Regions from separate parts of the Homo sapiens genome. Here regions 2, 3, 4, 5 and 6 are each linked to region 1. Evidence: promoter capture Hi-C in human tissues and cell types (Jung and others, 2019). All regions are on one chromosome and are shown on one strand. The core of a region is centred on a gene start or on the middle of the fragment in contact, and the rest is flanking DNA. Distances in the headings are between cores, read along the strand shown. Region 1 holds the start of UBE2I (ubiquitin conjugating enzyme E2 I). Region 2 overlaps CRAMP1 (cramped chromatin regulator 1). Region 3 overlaps CRAMP1 (cramped chromatin regulator 1). Region 4 overlaps JPT2 (Jupiter microtubule associated homolog 2). Region 5 holds the start of SOX8 (SRY-box transcription factor 8). Region 6 holds the start of GNG13 (G protein subunit gamma 13).

What was found. Contacts are between HindIII fragments. The study calls those that stand out against the background at their distance.
Region 2: a contact is called between a fragment that was not itself captured here and the fragment with the promoter of UBE2I in region 1, in 1 of the 25 tissues and cell types used here (dorsolateral prefrontal cortex).
Region 3: a contact is called between a fragment that was not itself captured here and the fragment with the promoter of UBE2I in region 1, in 5 of the 25 tissues and cell types used here (dorsolateral prefrontal cortex, lymphoblastoid cells, mesendoderm cells and 2 more).
Region 4: a fragment that was not itself captured here is called in contact with the fragment with the promoter of UBE2I in region 1 in 4 of the 25 tissues and cell types used here (IMR-90 fibroblasts, dorsolateral prefrontal cortex, lymphoblastoid cells and 1 more).
Region 5: the fragment with the promoter of SOX8 here is called in contact with the fragment with the promoter of UBE2I in region 1 in 2 of the 25 tissues and cell types used here (lymphoblastoid cells and pancreas).
Region 6: the fragment with the promoter of GNG13 here is called in contact with the fragment with the promoter of UBE2I in region 1 in 1 of the 25 tissues and cell types used here (dorsolateral prefrontal cortex).

Annotation. Positions count from the first base shown.
Region 1 is chr16:1,308,247-1,311,648 of GRCh38, forward strand. It overlaps UBE2I (ubiquitin conjugating enzyme E2 I), which reads left to right and starts at 1,390. Exons shown (of 7, transcript NM_003345.5): 1 at 1,390-1,527. RefSeq lists silencers at 459-748, 1,239-1,538, 1,739-1,928 and enhancers at 959-1,198, 1,900-2,511. The HindIII fragment of the contact is 23,762 bases long and covers 1-3,402 here.
Region 2 is chr16:1,671,145-1,674,177 of GRCh38, forward strand. It overlaps CRAMP1 (cramped chromatin regulator 1), which reads left to right. Exons shown (of 21, transcript NM_020825.4): 21 at 2,737-3,033. The coding sequence ends at 2,901. Among named protein-coding and RNA genes, the nearest start is that of JPT2, 5.6 kb to the right of the region's middle. The HindIII fragment of the contact is 5,726 bases long and covers 1-3,033 here.
Region 3 is chr16:1,633,493-1,636,676 of GRCh38, forward strand. The region is part of intron 4 of CRAMP1 (cramped chromatin regulator 1); the gene reads left to right. Among named protein-coding and RNA genes, the nearest start is that of CRAMP1, 23 kb to the left of the region's middle. The HindIII fragment of the contact is 4,859 bases long and covers 1-3,184 here.
Region 4 is chr16:1,699,105-1,702,226 of GRCh38, forward strand. It overlaps JPT2 (Jupiter microtubule associated homolog 2), which reads left to right. Exons shown (of 5, transcript NM_144570.3): 5 at 1-2,982. Among named protein-coding and RNA genes, the nearest start is that of MAPK8IP3, 5.5 kb to the right of the region's middle. The HindIII fragment of the contact is 5,896 bases long and covers 1-3,122 here.
Region 5 is chr16:980,125-983,062 of GRCh38, forward strand. SOX8 (SRY-box transcription factor 8) reads left to right here and starts at 1,646. Exons shown (of 3, transcript NM_014587.5): 1 at 1,646-2,220. The coding sequence starts at 1,799. CEROX1 (cytoplasmic endogenous regulator of oxidative phosphorylation 1) reads right to left here and starts at 1,489. Exons shown (of 3, transcript NR_164343.1): 1 at 1-1,489. It also overlaps a transcript of LMF1 not described here. The HindIII fragment of the contact is 8,118 bases long and covers 1-2,938 here.
Region 6 is chr16:798,702-802,121 of GRCh38, forward strand. GNG13 (G protein subunit gamma 13) reads right to left here and starts at 2,033. Exons shown (of 3, transcript NM_016541.3): 1 at 1,965-2,033; 2 at 279-410; 3 at 1-123. The coding sequence starts at 376. The coding sequence ends at 18. RefSeq lists enhancers at 1,722-2,271, 2,272-2,821, 2,822-3,371. The HindIII fragment of the contact is 13,916 bases long and covers 1-3,420 here.

The sequences.
Region 1 (3,402 bases), core at 140-2,639:
GAGGGAGGGAATGAATGAGAGAGGGAATGAGTGAGGGAGGGAAGGAATGAATGAGGGTGGGAATGAATGAATGAGGGCGGGAATGAATGAATGAGGGCGGGAATGAGTGAGAGTGAGAATGAGTGAGTGAGGGAGGGAATGAATGAGTGAGGGAGGGAATGAGTGAGGGAGGGAATGAGTGAGTGAGGGAGGGAATGAGTGAGGGAGGGAATGAGTGAGTGAGGGAGGGAATGAGTGAGTGGGAATGAATGAGTAAGTGAGGGAGGGAATGAGTGAGTGAGGGTGGCAATGAATGAGTAAGTGAGGGAGGGAATGCGTGAGAGAGGGAAGGAATGATTGAGTGATGGAGGGATCGAATGAATGAGGGAGGGAGGGAATTAGTGAGGGAGGGAGGGAATTAGTGAGTGAGGGAGGGAATGACGGAGTAGGGGAGGGAATGAATGAATGAGTGAGGGAGGGAATGAATGAATGTGGTCACTCCCCGCGGTCCCCAAGCACCCGGACACCGTGACCTTGGCTGCGGCCCCGCCGTCGGCGAAATGCGGGCGGGGGGGCCGGGAGAGCCCGGGGGCCAGCACGGTCGCGCGTTGGCGAACGGACTGTCCCGCGCGCTCGCGGGTCTGGGGGCCTCCCGACCCGGTCCTGCTTGTTGCGTGGGCGGGAGGGGGGACCGGAAGCGCCCCTCCCCCACGGGCTCGCCCCGCCCCCGCCGCTCGCGGTCCCCCACGTCCCGCCCGCGCCCCGGCCCAGGGCCAGCCCCCGGTTTAGGGAGCATCCACACTTCTCCTCCCGTCGGTCATGCTCGCATTCGGCCTTTTGTACGGGGTCAGCTCATTGGGCGGATGAGAAGGTGTCCCCGCCTACCGCCCCGAACTGGCCAATTGCAAGGGGTTTCACAGGGCGCTGAACTCGCGGGAGCGTCACCGTCCTGCGACGCTTCAGAGGATCCTTAGGCCTCAGTGGTCTTTGACCCCCGGCCCCAGGACCTGACCCCAAGGAAACCTCCGGGACCTGTGGCTGGAGAGGTGACCGCCAGGCATCCGGGGAGCCTTTGGAGATCTCGGCTTCCTTTTTCCCCCGCTGCTTGCCGGCGTGTCCTCGGGTGGACGCGGGCAGCCCGAAGGGGAGTTTACAGACGCTCCCTCACATCGGGGACGCGGCTCCTTTAAGGGCGTAGGTGTCCAGGGCGCCGCCTGACTGGAAAGTCGCCCCCCGGCCGGGCTCCTGGGGCGGACCCGGGGCGCGGGCGCGCGGCGGCGGGGCGCGGGCAACGGGGAGCGCTCGGCGGCGCGGGAGGCGCTCGGGGCCGGGCGGCAGGAGCGGCGCGCGAGGCAGGCGTGCAGAGGGCAGCCCCGCGTTAGGCCCCGCCCCGCGCGCCCCGCCCGCGCCAGGGTCCTCGGAGCTGCTCTGGCTGCGCGCGGAGCGGGCTCCGGAGGGAAGTCCCGAGACAAAGGGAAGCGCCGCCGCCGCCGCCCCGCTCGGTCCTCCACCTGTCCGCTACGCTCGCCGGGGCTGCGGCCGCCCGAGGTGAGCGCGTGCGGGGGCCGGGCCGGGGCCGCGGGGCGGGGGTCGGGCCGAGGCCTCTACTCCTGTTGGGCCCGGGCCCCCGACTGCCCCGCGCCCCGCCCCGCCGAGCCGGGCCCCGCGCCGCGGCCGAGCTTTCCGGGGAGCCCGAGAGGCCCCGCGCTCGGCGCCGGCTCGGTCCGCGCTGCTGGCGCCGCTGGGCTGCGGCCCGAGCGGCCGGGCCGCCGCAGGCCTTCGGGGCCGGGGCTCCCCCACTTCGCCCCCGAGGTGCGCCTGGCGCGGGGCCGGGGCAGCCACCTGCAGCCGGGGCCCCGCGAGGCCGCGCCTTCCTCCTGCGCGGGGAGCGGCTTCCGGGGTCACGGTCGCCCCGCGGACGGATAGGATGGGCCGCGGGGGGAGAGTCTTGGATTGCAACATCGCTGGCTCGCGGGGGTGGGGGCCGGCGAGCGGGCTTGTTTTCGGTGCCTTAAAACCAAAACAAGTGTAAGTTTTCTTGTGCCTCTGAAGATGCTCCGCTGGCGCTTGCTGGGGCCCTGAACGTGAGCGCCTCGCTGGAGGGGGAGTTTTATTCTGTTTTGGACATCTCTTTTTATCGGTTGAATAGTAGTTGGTTCTGGTAGTTAACGTGCGTAGGAGGAATGTAAGGGAATGATTAGTTGGGCTTGTGATCGTGGCCTGTAGTCACGCTTGAATCGCAGAATGAAGTGGTTTTGTTTGTATAATTGGAAGTTACGCTTAGTTTCTCTGTTTGCAAAGTGCCTGTCTTTGGGGAGTTCGGTTTGTTTCCTTTTACAGGACCTACCCCAAGTGTTTCTTGCTCTTCAAGAAACGTTGCCTTTGGGTAGAGAACCTATGCAACGGAAGACGGGACGGATCCTCAGTTTGCCCTGATTGCTCATTCAGAGAGGTCCGTTCCCTAGGCCACTGGGTGATTGCTGGTGTGCGCTTGTATGGTGTCTCAGGGTTTGGGATCTTGCTTCAGAAACATTCTCGGGGCCTGGGGCAGATCAGGTGCGGCCAGGTAAGCGTCTCCCGACTGCAGGTGCTTGGGTCTTGCAGAAGGGAATACCTCCCCAAGCCTGGGAGAGTTTGCATTTGGGTGCAGGAGGGCCTTTAAAGGCTTCTTGTGCCAGCCTGTCGTGGCGACCACCCGTTGTGGAGATCAGTGCGGTGGAGTTGTGGGAGGTGAGTGCTTTGCTCACCCTCAGCCAGGAAGTTGCTCTGAAGTCGGTGCTGTCAACCAGCAGAGCAAGGCGGTGATCCGAGAAGCTAAAGCTCAGCCGGTTGCGGGCGCCCAGCAGGAGGACAGAAGGCAGACTTTCGGGCCGCTCCTGGAGTGCCCGGCCCTGTCCCCGTTTCTGCAGTGTCTGGGCCTTGCCTGGCTCTAATAGATGAGGGTTGTTTTTGTCTTTGCATCATAAAAGTTTCTTGCTCTGAAGCGTTTAGTAACTACTAGCCGTTCACTAAGTGCCTATCTGTGAATTTGGAAGGGCAAATTCGATTTTCAGCGGAATTTTGAACGCTTGATCTGTGTTGTGATTACATTGTAACAGATTGGCCGCTTTCTCCAGAAGGCCAGTAGGAGGGGGTGCAGGGGGAGGGGCCTGGCTTCTGTCTGGGACACGGTGGGTGTGCACCTGTGGCTCCTTGCCCTGGCGGTGCAGTGCCTGTGAGACCACCCCGTGGTGCTGAGTGCTTTGGGGCAGGGGACACAGCAGCAGCAGCCAGGTCTTGGCAGGAGGTCTCGCAGGACCACCCCTCACGACTTCTCACACCTGAGACAGCAATAGCTAGGTGCTGGGACGGGGGCCTCTAGGCGGCTCTGTCCAGTCCTCAGCAGGAGGGCTGCCTGTGGCAGGGTCCCAGGCCCGTCTGGCC
Region 2 (3,033 bases), core at 489-2,988, 360 kb after region 1:
TGCTGAGGTGCGGGGAGTGTTGTGGAGGGAGGAGTAAGGGGTGGTGGCAGCAGTTGTGTTGTCAGTGCTCCCATCCTAACAGCAGGACCTTTGAGTGGCATCTCCCTGTCATGTTGAGCTGCGGTGCAGGGGAACTGGGATGGGCTCTGCTGTCCTCATGCTTCTCCCACGCCCAGGGTAGTGATAGGAGGAGTCACTGGGGCAGGTTCTTGAGGGGAAGGCGAAACGTGGTTTGTGACTCTCCACTTTTGACGAGATGCAGCGTCCCTCTTTGTTGGCCAGGCCATCTGGTTGTAGCCCTCAAGGCGTCCACCACATGGTTTGTGTGGCATTCGTGGGCAGGTCAGGCTTGCAGGGTGAAGACAGGCCCGTTTCACTGTGACGTAAAGTGCAGAGTGGCAGGTGTGTGGGCAGTCGGGTGAGGGCTCTATGGACAGGGAGGGAACTCCAGGTCCAGGAGATCATCCGCATGGGCTTAGCCCATGTGAAAGTCCTGGAGCAGCATTCCCCGAATCTAGTCCCCACAATGTTGAGACATTGGCAGGTGTTCCTTGAGGATTTTGTGGGTAGATACTTGAGGGACACCCTGGATCCAAAAAAGCTCAAAACAGCTGTTTCTCACGGACACCTCCGCTACCCAGTATCCGAATGTGAATCGTGACTCTTGAGATGATGAACTCATGGGCAGGCTTTGGAGAATTCCAAGCCAAGCCATGATATGACTGGAAATTTTAGCCAAATATACACATAGACACAATTAATAGCGTAGACCTCCATCTCACAGTGTGTGGCGTTTCTCAAACCTGTTTGGCCCCAGAATCATTATTCAGGGCACACCTTGGACTCTGATGTTTCCCGAGAAGCCAGTCTCTGTCTCTTCCCCTGTTTGTGCGCATGTTCCTAAGTGCTGGGCTCTGTGGAGATGGGCGCTGCGTACGTGCCCTGAGGCAGCATGCTCACGCCATGCTGTTGAAAGGACGGGCCACAGCCCAGTGACAGGAGCCCCTTGGAGTCAGAAATCCAGAGTGTTAGCCTCACCCCAATCAGAATTTGCACCTTTAATAAAATCCTGGGCAACAGATGGCACTTGGGAGTGAGTAGCAGAGAAAGGGTGCAGTTAGTATTTGTGAAACGCTGCCCGTCGCGAGTAATGCAAACGTGTTCACCTTCAGAAAGAGCAGATCAGCGTTTAGCATGAGATTTTCCCGAGAGCCCTCCACTCAGAACGTGAGTATGTTTCTCAGCAGGTCCTCGTCATCTGGAAGGATGGGCTGAGGCATTTGTGGATGAAAGGGTCTGGTGGTAGGGCTAGCATGAAGGGGGCGGGGGTGGAGCTGGGTGGCCCTGGGATGAAACGGGTGGGAGCTGCTGATGGACATACAGGGGAAGGAGAATTACTCTTTGCTCTGCTTTTGAAAACAAATTTTAATTTGTCTGACATTTCCCATAATCAAAGCATAAAATTTCATTTACGCCATAGCTCTATTCAGAATTTTCCAGACTTCTTGCATTCACAGTGTCATGCAGTTCATTAAGGGATATTTCTGCAGGGTCTGCTGTGTGCAAACAATGGCCCCTGTCCTCATGAGGCTTCTACTCTAGAGCAGGACGCAGACAATAAGCGCTGAAAACGGCACATTCTACGTATTTGCTCATGGGACAAGATCCCGGTGCCGAGGCCCTCCCGTCCTCCGTCTCCTCAGCTCTGTGCTGCCTCACTCACTCTGTCATGGCCACCACCTTGGTCGTGCTTTTCAGTCAAAGCCTCTTCCTGTCTCAGGGAACATGCCTGTTGCTTCTTTAAAAAGGAACGTACTCCCCATGTGTCCTCATGTCTCTGACGGGAACGTGCTCCCCACATGTCCTCAGGACTGATGGGAACGTGCCCTCACCACATGTCCTTGGGATTCTGACGGGATCGTGCCCTCCACCTGTCCTCATTTCTCTGACGGGAACGTGCCCCCAGCTCTCCTCATGTCTCTGATGGGAACGTGCCCCCAGCTGTCCTCATGTCTATGACGGGAACGTGTCCCCCACCTGTCCTCATGTCTATGATGGGAACGTGTCCCCCACCTGTCCTCATGTCTGTGATGGGAACGTGCCCCCCACCTGTCCTCATGTCTCTTGACGGGAACGTGTCCCCCACCTGTCCTCATGTCTATGACAGGAACGTGTCCCCCACCTGTCCTCATGTCTGTGACGGGAACGTGTCCCCCACCTGTCCTCATGTCTATGATGGGAATGTGTCCCCCACCTGTCCTCATGTCTATGATGGAAACGTGTCCCCCACGTATCCTCGGGTTTTACCCCACCTCCCGCTCAGGTCCCAGTCCTTGGAGCACCCTCTCTGGCCTCCTTTTCCCGGCACTCTCTGTCCCCTCACTCTGCATCTGTTTCTGCAGGCTGCCCCCAGTGCCTGTGTCTGCTGCATACAGTCTGTCTACCTGTTGGGTGTCTTCCCCCATAGGTCTCATGGCGGGCGGGGGGACCAGCACCCTCACCCCAGCCATCAGATGTGCCAGGCACATCATAGGCTCTCTGCGAGCACTTATCTAAAGAGTGTGCGGGCAGACGACAGGTGATTGTGATTCTGCACAGAGCCCTGGGCTGCCATCCCTAGCTTAGCTTCCTGCAGCGGGAGTCGATAGGAGCTTCTCGTCCTGTTTCAGGACCCGCCCTCCACTGAAGGGCCAGCAGGTCGCGGTGACTTGTTCTTCCTGTCTCCTCTTCCTGCAGGTTGTGGATTCCCAGCTGGTGTGCATGATGAACGAAAACAGCATTGATTACATTTCTCGGTTCAATGACCTGGCCCAAGAGCTGTCCATCGCTGAGCCTGGCCGCCGAGAAGCTCTGTTTGATGGTGGTGGAGGCGGCCCCGCTGTCAGTGACCTGTCCCAGTGACCACACGTCCTGGTGGCGGATGAAGCCCTCTTCGAGCTAGAGAAAAATAGATAAGCCCAGCAGCCCCAGAAGATGGTCTGAACAGAGGCATCTCCGCACCCAAGACTGTGCAACGGGCAGGAACGTGGTCAC
Region 3 (3,184 bases), core at 454-2,953, 330 kb after region 1:
CACGTGACCATTCATGTAAGATTTTCTGCTGACTTCACCTATTTATAGCACATCAGTTCCGTTTTGTCCTATATTTGATGCCTGTGCTGGTCTTCTCATGTTCAGCTCACTTGTTTATTTGAAATCTCAGCACTGGTCAGATCCCGTCATCCAAGGCTGTTGTGGTTAATGTCAGGTTGTGGTGAGTGGCCTTGTGCCTTCCAGAGTGGCACGCAGCACCGACTTTTCATTGTCGGCCTCTTCCTGTGTCGTCTGTCCTTTGCATCGTTCATTAGTGCCTTTTTGAAAGACAGTCCAGGCTGCGCGCGGTGGCTCATGCCTGTAATCAGCACTTTGGGAGGCAGAGGCGGGCGGATCACGAGGTCAAGAGATCAAGACCATCCTGGCCAACATGGTGAAACCGCATCTCTACTAAAAATACAAAAATTAGCTGGGCATGGTGGTGCACACCTGTACTCCCAGCTACTCGGGAGGCTGAGGCAGGAGAATTGCACCACTGCACTCCAGCTTGGCCACAGAGCAAGACTCCGTCTCAAAAAAAAAAAAAGAAAGAAAGTCAGTCCATGAGAGCAGATCTGCCATCCACTGTGGCTGGTCTTGAAAAGCTCTCTATGGGGGAAGCTGGCCAGCAGCGGAGGGGACTGGGCAGCTGTTTAGTAGATGAGGTATAGAGAGAGGGATGGGATTCCAGGAGCTTCGGTCTAGTGTGCTTTGCTTGAACCATCTGCGGGCAGGGTGGGAAGCGTCTTTGGACCCTCAGGCTCCTGGCGTAGACTTATCTCCTCTTCTGAGGTTCAAATGCACATTCTACTTGCCAACCCAGGCTCTCTCCCATGTCAATTTCAGAAGGCAGTCAAAGCAAACATTTCTTTTCTAATTGTGTCACCTTTCCCTGTTAAACAACCTCCTAATCCTAAACTTGCTGGTGCGAGGAGGCCTCATTCCTCTTTGGCCCTTCTGTCCATCTAGGGTGAAGGGTAAATGCTCCCTCACACCTCTCGGTGGGGGGTCACACCCAACACAGGTCCTTTTCCCTTCTCCGTGTGGGCCCCTGTGCTTCCCTCTCTTCCTGACCTGGCACAGCAGGCTCCTACAGCCTTGGTGTCTCCTGTTCGTGCATCTTTGGTGTGACCCCACATGATGTGCCTTCTTCCTGTTGAGCTCACCGTTCTCCCGTGTTCTCCCGGGTTCTCTGATGGCCCTGACTGTCTCTTCAGCAGGGCTGTCTGCCTCCGTGCCAGCGGGCAGCGGCATTGGGGCACCCGATGCTGACTTGCCCAACAGGAGCATGAGGCTGGAGGCCACTAGGACACTGCGAAGTGACTGGCCCCATGGACTGTCATTGCGCATCAAACAGAGTGGCAACTTTTTCACGTTACATGTATTTTTGGCGTGCTTTGGAGTTTTGTTTTGTTTTGTTTTTTGAGCCAGAGTCTTGCTCTGTTGCCCAGGCTAGAGTGCCATGGCGCACTCTCAGCTCACTGTAACCTCCATCTCCCAGTTTCAAGCGATTCTCATGCCTCAGCCTCCCGAGTAGCTGGGATTACAGGTGTGCACCACCACACCCAGCTAATTTTATATTTTTTAGGAGAGATGAGGTTTCACTATGTTGCCAAGCTGGTCTTGAACTCCTGAGCTCAGGAAATCCACCTGCCTCGGCCTCCCAAAGTGCAAGGATTACAGGCGTGAGCCACCACGCCTGGCCTGTGCTTTGGAGTTTTGAAGAGCACACCGTGTGCACTTTATCATGGGTTTGTCTGACTCATCTTGTGGCGTGAGACACAGAGTGGTGGCAAGCGAGCGTGGAAGGGACTGACTCCGCCCCCAGCTTGGGGGCCTTGCGTGTGTGTTCGTCTTACTAATCTCCCGTGGTTTCCATGCACATCTGCGTTTCCTTGCTGCTGTCCATTGCTCAGTGGAGATTTTGCTTCACGAACTCAAAGTTGGATGAGGTGAGCTTGGTTCCTGTCCCTGAGTGTGTAATAAAACATGAGGTGCCACCTAGGAGGCCGTGGGGCCAGGCGGGGCATCAGGGACACCTCCCGGAAGCCCTGCTTCGTCCCAGGGTCCCACCTCCCCTGGGGTCCCTTGTCTGCAGTGTCTTGCTCTTGGTGCTACTTTCTTGTTTCTGGGTTGTGGGTTTTTTTCTTTTTGCCATTTCAAATAGTGGACTTTAAAATATATATTTTAGAAATGGGGATATTATTCACCCTTTTAAAGCATACAACTTAGTGGTTCTTAATGTACTTACAAGGTTATGCAGCCATTGCCACTCTCTAGTTGCAGAATATGTCCATTGCCCAGGAGGAAACCCTGTGCCCCGGTGCTGGGAGCCCTCAGTTTACTACCTCCTGTCTCTATGGATCGTTCTACTCTGGATGTTTCATAGAAATGGGATCACGTGCTATGTGTCCTTCTGTGCCTGGTTTCCTTCACTCAGCGTCAGGTTTCAGGGTTTGTCTGTGTTGTAGCGTGTGCCAGTCCTTTGTATGGCTGGATTATTTTCCTTTGGGTGGATGGCCACATTTTGCTTGTCTACTGAATAGTGGATCTTAAAGCTTTCCGAGTCATGGGCTCCTTTAAGAAAGTCTGATGAGGCCAGGCGTGGTGGCTCACGCCTGTAATCCCAACATTTTGGGAGGCCGAGGTGGGCGGATCACCTGAGGTCAAGAGTTTGAGACCAGCCTGACTAACGTGGTGAAACCCCGTCTCTACTAAAAATACAAACATTAGCAGGGCGTGGTGGCGCATGCCTGTAATCCCAGCTACTTGGGAGGCTGAGGCAGGAGAATCCCTTGAACCTGGGAGGCGGAGGTTGCAGTGAGCTGAGATCGCGTCACCGCACTCCAGCCTGGGCAACAAGAGCGAAACTCTGTCTCAAAAAAAAAAAAAGAAAGAAAGAAAAAAAGAAAGTCTGATGAGCCCTTAGGTCTTAGGTCTTTCTCTCAGAAGAGCCTTTGAGAGCAGTTGGCCTGTGCTTAGCCGTGTCCGAGACCCATGGTCCAGAATCCTCCTCATATCTTGAAAGCCTGCTTCTCCATTTACCAGTCTTAGGGCCTTGAGAACAGGTCTCTGAGGAGAGAACTAGAGAGGACAATTGTGAGAGTAGAGGGGACAAATGGCCTTCACCCCTGCTCTGTGAAGTGACCCAAAGGGGCCTGGACTGTGTTGTCACTTGGTTTCC
Region 4 (3,122 bases), core at 62-2,561, 390 kb after region 1:
TTATGTGAGCCTGGCTGCTCAGCGTCTCCTGGCCGTCATGACAGCTGCTTGGAGACCCGTGCCTTCCAGATGGCTGGGAGATGCCTCTGTGGGGATGAAATGGGGCACCCCTGGCCATCACTCATGTGTAGTCCAGGTTTGAGAGGAACTGGAAGGGGGGTGAGGGTGGGGAGGTGGGGCAGGGCATGGTCCTTGGATCAACAGCCCGCCAGCTGATTGGATGTCTAGGAATGACTGAAAGAAACCAAAACAGCCTGTCCACTGCTGCTGTGGGATGGAGGAGGCGTAAGCAGAAACACTAACAGTATATTGACCTCTTAGCAGAACCGCTTCCATTCTGGAGATCACGGCTGCTAAATCCAGCATCCCCACTTCATTTTACCCCCAGCATATTGTTCTGTAGTCTTTTCTTGAAACATCTTGATTGCTTTTCCTCGGCAGCTTTCAAAAAACCAAATAATAATAGTTATCCGTCTTCTACTTCATGGAAGATTGTTTTGGTGCCCTGACCCTCTGAAGTGCCCAGTTCCTGCCATCTGAAACCTCGGCCTGATCTGATCTCATGTTGGAATCTGCCTGTCTTTCACACAGGGCTGGTCTTGGTCCTTTACATGCCAGTTTTGCTTGTGAATTCTTGCTTTTTTCCTCTCATCAGCCTTAAGTTTAGGCGTTTGTTGTTCTCCAGTGATGTAGACAGTTCCCTTCACAAGTCACAGTTCTTCCCATAAATGAGGCCCGCTGACCTCTGCGGGACTTTAAAAATCTATTCAGATATTTCCGAGTAAGTGGCTTGTTTAAATTCTTCCTGTGTCTTTCTTTATTCCTTAATTGGTTGGTGGAAAGAAGAGATGCTTGGGAACCTTGGGTTCTTAGGTTTGGATTCTTTAATAATATCTAAAAAGCTAAATTTTAAATACCAGCTTTACATAAATGATTGTTGACTCTGGTCTGTTTCTGACACCTTTCCAGAAAAAAGTCAATTGTTCAGGTACACCAAAGAGGAAGAAGAGCTGTGGAGGCCACCCTCTACAAAGCTTTATAGAACTTCTGGATCTAACTCACAAACAAGCTTCCAGAAGAGACTAGAGACCTTAGGCCAGGAGATGAAGGAGTTCAGTAGCAAAGTCACACCTGTCCAATTCCCTGAGCTTTGCTCACTCAGCTAATGGGATGGCAAAGGTGGTGGTGCTTTCATCTTCAGGCAGAAGCCTCTGCCCATCCCCCTCAAGGGCTGCAGGCCCAGTTCTCATGCTGCCCTTGGGTGGGCATCTGTTAACAGAGGAGAACGTCTGGGTGGCGGCAGCAGCTTTGCTCTGAGTGCCTACAAAGCTAATGCTTGGTGCTAGAAACATCATCATTATTAAACTTCAGAAAAGCAGCAGCCATGTTCAGTCAGGCTCATGCTGCCTCACTGCTTAAGTGCCTGCAGGAGCCGCCTGCCAAGCTCCCCTTCCTACACCTGGCACACTGGGGTCTGCACAAGGCTTTGTCAACCAAAGACAGCTTCCCCCTTTTGATTGCCTGTAGACTTTGGAGCCAAGAAACACTCTGTGTGACTCTACACACACTTCAGGTGGTTTGTGCTTCAAAGTCATTGATGCAACTTGAAAGGAAACAGTTTAATGGTGGAAATGAACTACCATTTATAACTTCTGTTTTTTTATTGAGAAAATGATTCACGAATTCCAAATCAGATTGCCAGGAAGAAATAGGACGTGACGGTACTGGGCCCTGTGATTCTCCCAGCCCTTGCAGTCCGCTAGGTGAGAGGAAAAGCTCTTTACTTCCGCCCCTGGCAGGGACTTCTGGGTTATGGGAGAAACCAGAGATGGGAATGAGGAAAATATGAACTACAGCAGAAGCCCCTGGGCAGCTGTGATGGAGCCCCTGACATTACTCTTCTTGCATCTGTCCTGCCTTCTTTCCCTCTGCGAGGCAGTGGGGTGGGATTCAGAGTGCTTAGTCTGCTCACTGGGAGAAGAAGAGTTCCTGCGCATGCAAGCCCTGCTGTGTGGCTGTCGTTTACATTTGGGAGGTGTCCTGTATGTCTGTACGTTGGGGACTGCCTGTATTTGGAAGATTTAAAAACCTAGCATCCTGTTCTCACCCTCTAAGCTGCATTGAGAAATGACTCGTCTCTGTATTTGTATTAAGCCTTAACACTTTTCTTAAGTGCATTCGGTGCCAACATTTTTTAGAGCTGTACCAAAACAAAAAGCCTGTACTCACATCACAATGTCATTTTGATAGGAGCGTTTTGTTATTTTTACAAGGCAGAATGGGGTGTAACAGTTGAATTAAACTTAGCAATCACGTGCTCAGAGCTTTTGCCTGTCAGTTGTGTGTGTCCCTTATAGTCCCTTCCCCCACAGCTCTTGCTGAAAGAGTTTGCCTTGTTTTGTTTTGTTGTTTTGTATTTAGCCAGAGGATGCCAAAATTAGTCTTCTCAAAGCTTTGAGTAGAGTAAGTGTGGGAATAAGCCAGTTTTTTTTTTTCTGTTTCTGTAACTTAAATGAACGGGTTTTTTTCCCTTGTATGCCACTTGTCCTAACATGTCCTTAAGGTGTTTAACCTGCCTCTGACCTGGCTTGCAATGCATAGGTGAGGAGAAGCAGAGAGCTTGTCATATGCAAGTCCTGTCAAGAAAACAGGTGGGCATGGTGGCTCAGGTCTGTAGTCTTTGGGTCTTTGGGAGGCCAGGGTGGGAGGATCACTTGAGCTCAGGAGTTTGAGACCAGCCTAGACAACATACTACGACCCTGTCTATACAAAAAAAAACTTCTCTAAATTAGCCGGATGTGGTGGTGCATGCCTGTAGTCCCAGCTACTCGGGAGGCTGAGTGAGGCAGGAGGATCACTTGAGACCAGGAGGTTGTGGCTGTAGTGAGTGATGATCATGCCACTGCACTTCAGCCTGGACCACAGAGCAAGACCCTGTGTAAAAAAATAAAATAAAAAACAGATTGGATGTCTTTCTTCTGATGTATTAGCTATTTTCATATGTTTTCTAACATACTTAATATCCTTACAGGCATTATGTGGATTCAGGGTAAACTTCTCAGACTGTGAGCCTGAGAGTTCCTCTCTAGGAGGCTCCACACCATTCTGCCTGCTAGATCGGG
Region 5 (2,938 bases), core at 396-2,895, 330 kb before region 1:
ACCTGGCTGCAGAGATGAGACCGCCCTCCGGGCAGGTGACACGGCCCTTGCTCTTCAGCCTGGAGGCCAATGCTTCCTCCAAAGGCCCTGGCCCCCTCAGCTCCGGGCCTGGCTCCGGTTGTTCCCAATGCAAAGCAGCAAGGGCCCCGGGGTCTGCGGACGGGGGCGGGCGGCCGCTGGGGGCACCAGCTCTCGGCCGGGCCAGAACAGGGGGTAGGAGGCGCGTCCTGTGCGGTCGGTGGCGGCCCCAGGTGGGTGCGGTGCGCTGGCAGGAAGCGGCAGCACGACCCCCGACTTTGCATCTGGACTTTTCTAGTAACGGACCAGCTCCTTCTGCCGACCGGGCCGGGGAGACCGCGTGGCTCAGTGGCTGCAGCGGCCACCGGCCCGGGCGTGGGGGCTTTGAGGGCACCGGCGCGGTAGGTCACCCGGGTTTCGCGGGCCGCAAGCTCGGAGACGCGCGTGTCCCGCGTTGGCTGCCTGACCCGGAATGGCGCAGCCCCTTCGCCTCCAGCGCGCTGGTTGAAAGGATCCGAGCCACCCTCGGGGACGGCCGGGCCGAGGCCACCTCGCGGGGCGGCCTTGGGCGGGGACCCGGACCCGCGGTTGGACGTTCGCCTCGGGGGGGGCAATGTCCCCTCTCCGACCCCGCGGTCCCCACCAGGGCGGCACACCCCGCCCTCTCCCCGCCTCCGCAGGCGCCCAGGGCTCACAGGCTCGGAGCGGCCTCCGCCTCTGCCGGACCACCCAGGGCCGCCCCGCCGGAGGGGCCTCCCCGCCCCCGAGCCCTAGGTCACGCCCGGAAGGCCCGGGGCCCCCGCGTCCGGCCACGCCATCCGCCCGGCGGCCCCAGGGACTCAGCGCCGGGGTCAGCGCAGGCCCCGCCCAGCGCTCCCGCCCCCTCCAGCTGGCCGGCCCCCGGGACCGCGCCCCCGCCCGCGCTCTCCACGCTCGCACTCGTATGGGCAGGGCGGCCCGGGGTCCCCCAGCTCCGAGCCGCGGCCCCTTGAAGCGCGTTACCTGGACGTGCGCTGTCCGCAGACTCTGGACGAGCTGGGCCTGGGCGCTGCGCGGCGGAACCGACCCTGTCCTGGACCGCAGGCAGCAGCTGACCCCGCGCCACCGGCCTGCGGGCGAGACCTCAGGCGCGAGACGGGCTGTGTGTGTGTGTGTGTGTGTGAGAGAGAGAGAGAGAGAGAGAGAGAGAGAGAGAGAGAGAGAGAGTGTGTGTGTGTGTGTGTGTGTGTGTGTGTGTGTGTGTGTGTGTCGGGGGAGGGGCCCGAGGACCCGCTTCCTAGCTGAGCGTCAGGACGGGGGGCGGACTCTCAGGAGCCGCGCGGCGCCCGCAGAGGAGAGGAAGCGCCGGAGACCCCCCTGCTCCCACCCGGCCTCCCTGCCCCGCTTCCTTTCCCGGGGCTCCAGAGAGGGGAGCTCCAGGCGTGGGGCGCCTGGCCCACGTGGTGCGGCGCCGGGCGGGGCAGGCGGGGGCGCGGCGAGAGCCGCGGAGCTTTCTTTATGGGTGGGGGGGCGGGGGCGGCCGGGCTCCGCCTCCGGGGGATCGGGGCGCGCTCCGCCAATGGGTAGCCGGGCGCGGGGCGGGGCCGCGGGGCCGCCGCTTAAAGAAACTTGTTGCGGGTCCCGCAGCGGGACCCGAGCCTCGGCGGCGGCGGCGGCGGCGGCAGGGGCGAGGGTCGGGGCCACCGCGCGGCGACCTCGGGTCCCGGAGCGACCGCAGGGCAGCCCCGGGCGCCGGCCCCGGTGCGCGTCTCCTGTGCGCGCCCCTCCGCGCGCGGCCCCGATGCTGGACATGAGCGAGGCCCGCTCCCAGCCGCCCTGCAGCCCGTCCGGCACCGCCAGCTCCATGTCGCACGTGGAGGACTCGGACTCGGACGCGCCGCCGTCTCCCGCCGGCTCCGAGGGCCTGGGCCGCGCGGGGGTCGCGGTGGGGGGCGCCCGGGGCGACCCGGCGGAGGCGGCGGACGAGCGCTTCCCGGCCTGCATCCGCGACGCCGTGTCGCAGGTGCTCAAGGGCTACGACTGGAGTCTGGTGCCCATGCCGGTGCGCGGCGGCGGCGGCGGCGCGCTCAAAGCCAAGCCGCATGTGAAGCGGCCCATGAACGCATTCATGGTGTGGGCGCAGGCGGCGCGCCGCAAGCTGGCCGACCAGTACCCGCACCTGCACAACGCCGAGCTCAGCAAGACGCTGGGCAAGCTGTGGCGGTGAGTGCCGGCGCCCCGGGGGCGGGGTTCGGGACCTTGGCCGCCCCTGGTCTCGGACTGCGAGCGGGGGCCTGGAGGGCGCAGAGCTCGCGGAGGTGGTGGCCACACGCAGGCTCCGGGCTCTGCACCCCGGGCGGGTGTCAGGGCGGGTCCCAGTGGAAAAACATCCTCTGGCCAGCCGGGGTCCGGCGCCAGCTATGGGAGTCGGGATCCGCGGAGGGCAGCGCCTGGGGTGTGCACCCTCGTGGCGGGTGCGCTCTGGAGCCAGTTCTCCTGGCGGGGAACACCCTGCGGAGGGCCATGGCTGGCACCCCGACGTGCCCTCCAGCCGTTGCGAGTGGCCCCAGCCCCGGGAGGCACGCCCGGCACGACAGCAAGTTGCATGCGGCTCTCTGGAGGTGCTCCCTCCTTAGAAAGGGCTCAGCTCCTCTAGCTCCTGGACCACCCATGGGGAGGGAGTGCGGCAGGCGGATGGGTGGGCAGCAGGTTTGCCTGCGAGTACCCTCCCCGCAGTTTCTCCCTCTCCTGGACACCCTCGGTCCGAAGCAGGGAGGGCAGGAGTGGAGATGACGGGGTGCGCCGTGTGCACGCCTTGGCGTGGTGGGGCCGGTCAGTTTTCCAGAAATTAGGACTGCAGAGTGAAGAACTTGTTGCTCAGGACAGGCCGCCCCCACCGAGTGTCCTCTGGTTGGGTTTCAAATGGTTCTCTTGGTTTGGG
Region 6 (3,420 bases), core at 783-3,282, 510 kb before region 1:
GGGGCCGGGTGCGGGGCTCACAGGATGGTGCATTTGCCCTTTTCCACCCATGGGTTGTTCTTCATCAGGTCGGGGTTCAGGAAGGGGTCCTTGGGGATCCCGTCCTCGATCCACTTCAGCAGCCTGCGGGTGGGCGGGTGGCAGGTGAGTGGTGGCACCTGACCCCCGAGGGCCTCCTGCTGCACCTGCCTGTCGGCGGCGGTGGTCGTGGCTATGGAAATGAGCAGCCAGCGCAGGGCAGACAAATGAGAGGCAAATCAGGCAGGTGGGGCACTCACTCGGGGATGGTCTTGGACGCCATCTCCCGCTGGAAGGCCAGCTGGTACTTGAGGCTCTCCACCTCTTTCTTCATCTGTGGCACGTCCCACTCCTCCATGGGGTCAGGGGCTTCTGAAGCAGCCAGCCTGGGGCTGGAGGGCACAGGAGGAAGCCACAGGGCCGAGGCCACCAGCCTGTAGTCCCCACCCCCGCTGCTCCCCGCAGGCCTGAGCTGAACCCCGCAGGATGAAGCGGGGAGAGTCCACACCACTGCCTGGGCCAGTCCCCTAGGCGTTGCTAGGGTGCAGGGCACAGAGCGAGTTCCCACAAGGCCCCAGCTCCCGCCTCCTGCACTGGGACTAATTAACTGCAAGAAACTTTACATCCTCAGCTACTCCCCCATAGGCCCCCACACCTTACGAAGATCCCTTGCAGGCAGGAGAAAGGGTGCTCAGCACGGCAGGCCCCCAGCTCCTACCCTCCCACTGAGGCCCACGCAGGCTGACCCAGACCACGGTGTGAGGTGTGGGGCGAGGTCCTCAGGAGGTGGCCCCTGCCCCGCCCCGCTGTGTGCCCCTTTGCTTTGCATGGCAGAGCCCAGTCCAGAGCCAGGACTCCTGGACAGGAATGTTCTGCTGCAGTTTGCTTCTCTGGCAGGTGGGGTGTGTGCTCAGGATCTTGGGGGCTCAGGCTATACTACCCGAGTCTGGGATATGGGCTGTGGGTGGCCCCTGGGTCCCCAGTGTGTCTGGGAACCACACACGTTACCTGCGTGCTTTCTGCTTGTGGCCAGCCTGGGAAAGCCACAGGTTGACACCCCTCAGAACTGCCACAAGTTCGAGGCAAGTGGGGGTGGGTTGCCCCCTGCCTCTCCCCCTACCCACTCCAGGGGCCCAGGGAGTCCCTCACTCCGTCCCAACTCTGGCCCCCGTCCCCAAGGTTGGGAGACAGGGCTGAACCTTGGGAGGGTGGGTGGGGGTTGGCGTCAAGTTTCGGGGAGCCTGCCTCTGGCTGTGAAGGGGGCTCCTGGCCCAACAGTCTCCCCATCCTTTGGTCGTGCAGCTGCACCGGCCACCTAGGGAGGGGCCCAGGGCCTGAGGCTGGTGGGGTCCCGGTGGTGAATTGGGCAGACTCCCAGCAGCCAGCAGAGGGTCTGCCCGTAGTGGGGTGGGAGGCCGGGGAGCGAGCGGGGGCAGGTTTCTGGGGGAGTGATCAGGGTCATGCAGAGGATTCCCTCCCGGAGACTCTGGAGTTCCAGCACCCCTACCCGCCCCCATCCCCGGTGCAGGCCTTTTCTCGGAGACCCTACACTCAGCCCCGTGGGCGCAGGACTAGCTGCGTGCGGGTCCTCCCAGGCCCGGGGTGTTGGCGCCCCGCCCACAGCCCAGTCCTTGCTGCCCAGCCCTACCTTCGCGCAGCTGCCGCCAAGCCTGGCCACCCACCCCGTGCACCCCGTGGACGCCCCCAGCCACGGGACTCGGTGGGCACTGCAGGCGGCGCACGGCGCTCAGATGGACACAGCTCCCCCGCACCGCGAGAGCCGCCTCCCTGCCTGCAGCACCGGCTCGGGTTGGGTTTTGCTGCCTGCGGGGCAGCTGCCCTCGCCCCGGGAGTTAGGGTGAGCCCAGGGGACTGACCTGGGCCAGCTGAGAGTCGAGGGGCCTCCGGGCCCTCCCTAGCCCCGGGCGCCTGTTCATCGGACCTACCTTGAAAAGGTGACAGCGGAGGGACAATGACAACGGCCAGGCGACCGCGAGTGAGAGCGAGGGCCAAGTGATGTTCCGGGAGTCCGCCAGGCAGAGCCCTGGCTGTGCCCCGCCCCTCCCGCCACCTGGGCCCTGGCGCCGCCCCCACACCCTCCTCAGGGCTGGGCTGACCCCAGAGATAGCCTGTGCTGCCCCCTCCCCTGGGCTCACCCAGCGGATGGACATGCAGCCAGGGGCCAGTGTGGGGCTGGTCCATTTTCCCTGAGGGGCCAGCTTGGGCCCTGGTGGAGAGGTCTCCTTCCACTTGAGGGGGTGGGTTCCCCCTCCAGTGTCCTGGGCCAGCCGGGAGGAGTGGGGATGGGGCTGGGACCCTTTGCCCTCTGAAGCCTCTGCAGCCTGCAGGGTTCAGGTGACACTCAGCTGTGCCCCCCTGACAGAGGCATCCTGTGTGGGCCATGTGGCTCACCCTGGGATGTGAGCCTCTTACTGCTAGGGGCCCCGGGGCTCTGTGGAGCTCCCTGCTCCAGCCCGATCCCCTGTTCCCAGACCAGTGGCCGGCACGGGGCAGCTCCCGAGGGCAGGAGAGTGCCGTGCTTTTCAGTCTGATCTGAGCTGAGAGTGGCGGCCTGAGGCGTCCCCAACACCGGTCCACTGTGGGTGCTCTGGGGCACGCTGCCTCGGGAGAGGTGCCCCCAGCTGCAGCACTTGGGCTCGGGTTGTGTGACCTCAAGGCTCTGGGGAGAGGGCTTCCCTTTGGGGCTCCGCACCTGTCAGCCTGCAGAGCTGAGACTGGCCCCTTTTCCTCTGACACGTTTCCCCGTGTCTCCTCCCACCCTGCCCTTGGGTGTACCCCTTGGGCTCCTGTGGGAGCTGTGCCCTATGTACCAGCAGGTGACGTACATACCAGGCTGCATCCTAGGTGGGGGCGCCCAGGCAGCAACAGCAGCCTCTGGGGGCACAGGGCCAAGCTCCCCAAACAGTCCCTGCAGAAGCTGGGCCACCCCCGGGGAAGCGTGGGCCAGGCCCTCGGTGGGTGCTGGCAGGGCCAGGGGCCTGTGAGCAGGTCACTCTGCCTTCCCCAGTGTCACAGGGAACCGCCCGGCCTGCCTGGGGTGGCCCAGACCTCTGCAGGGGTTGTCGGGGAGAGGTGGGCCCTGTCCCTCTCAGGCGCTCAGGTCCCTGAAGTCACTCAGCAGGACTCCCTGCCAGTGTGACTCCGTGAATCGGGGCCACCTGCACCTCCCGCCCTGATGTGTGTCGGCTGGATCAGAGGCGCCTCTGGAACTGGGGCACATTAGGGAAGGGATTATTTTTATTATGGATTTGGGGGTGGGGTGGGGCAGCTTAAAGCCCAGGGCACGAGGCCTCCTCCTCAGGGCAGATGGTTGCCCCTCTTGGCATGGTGGGGGCTAGACGTCTCCCTGATCCCAGTGCCCGCCCTGCCCTGCCTGTGCCC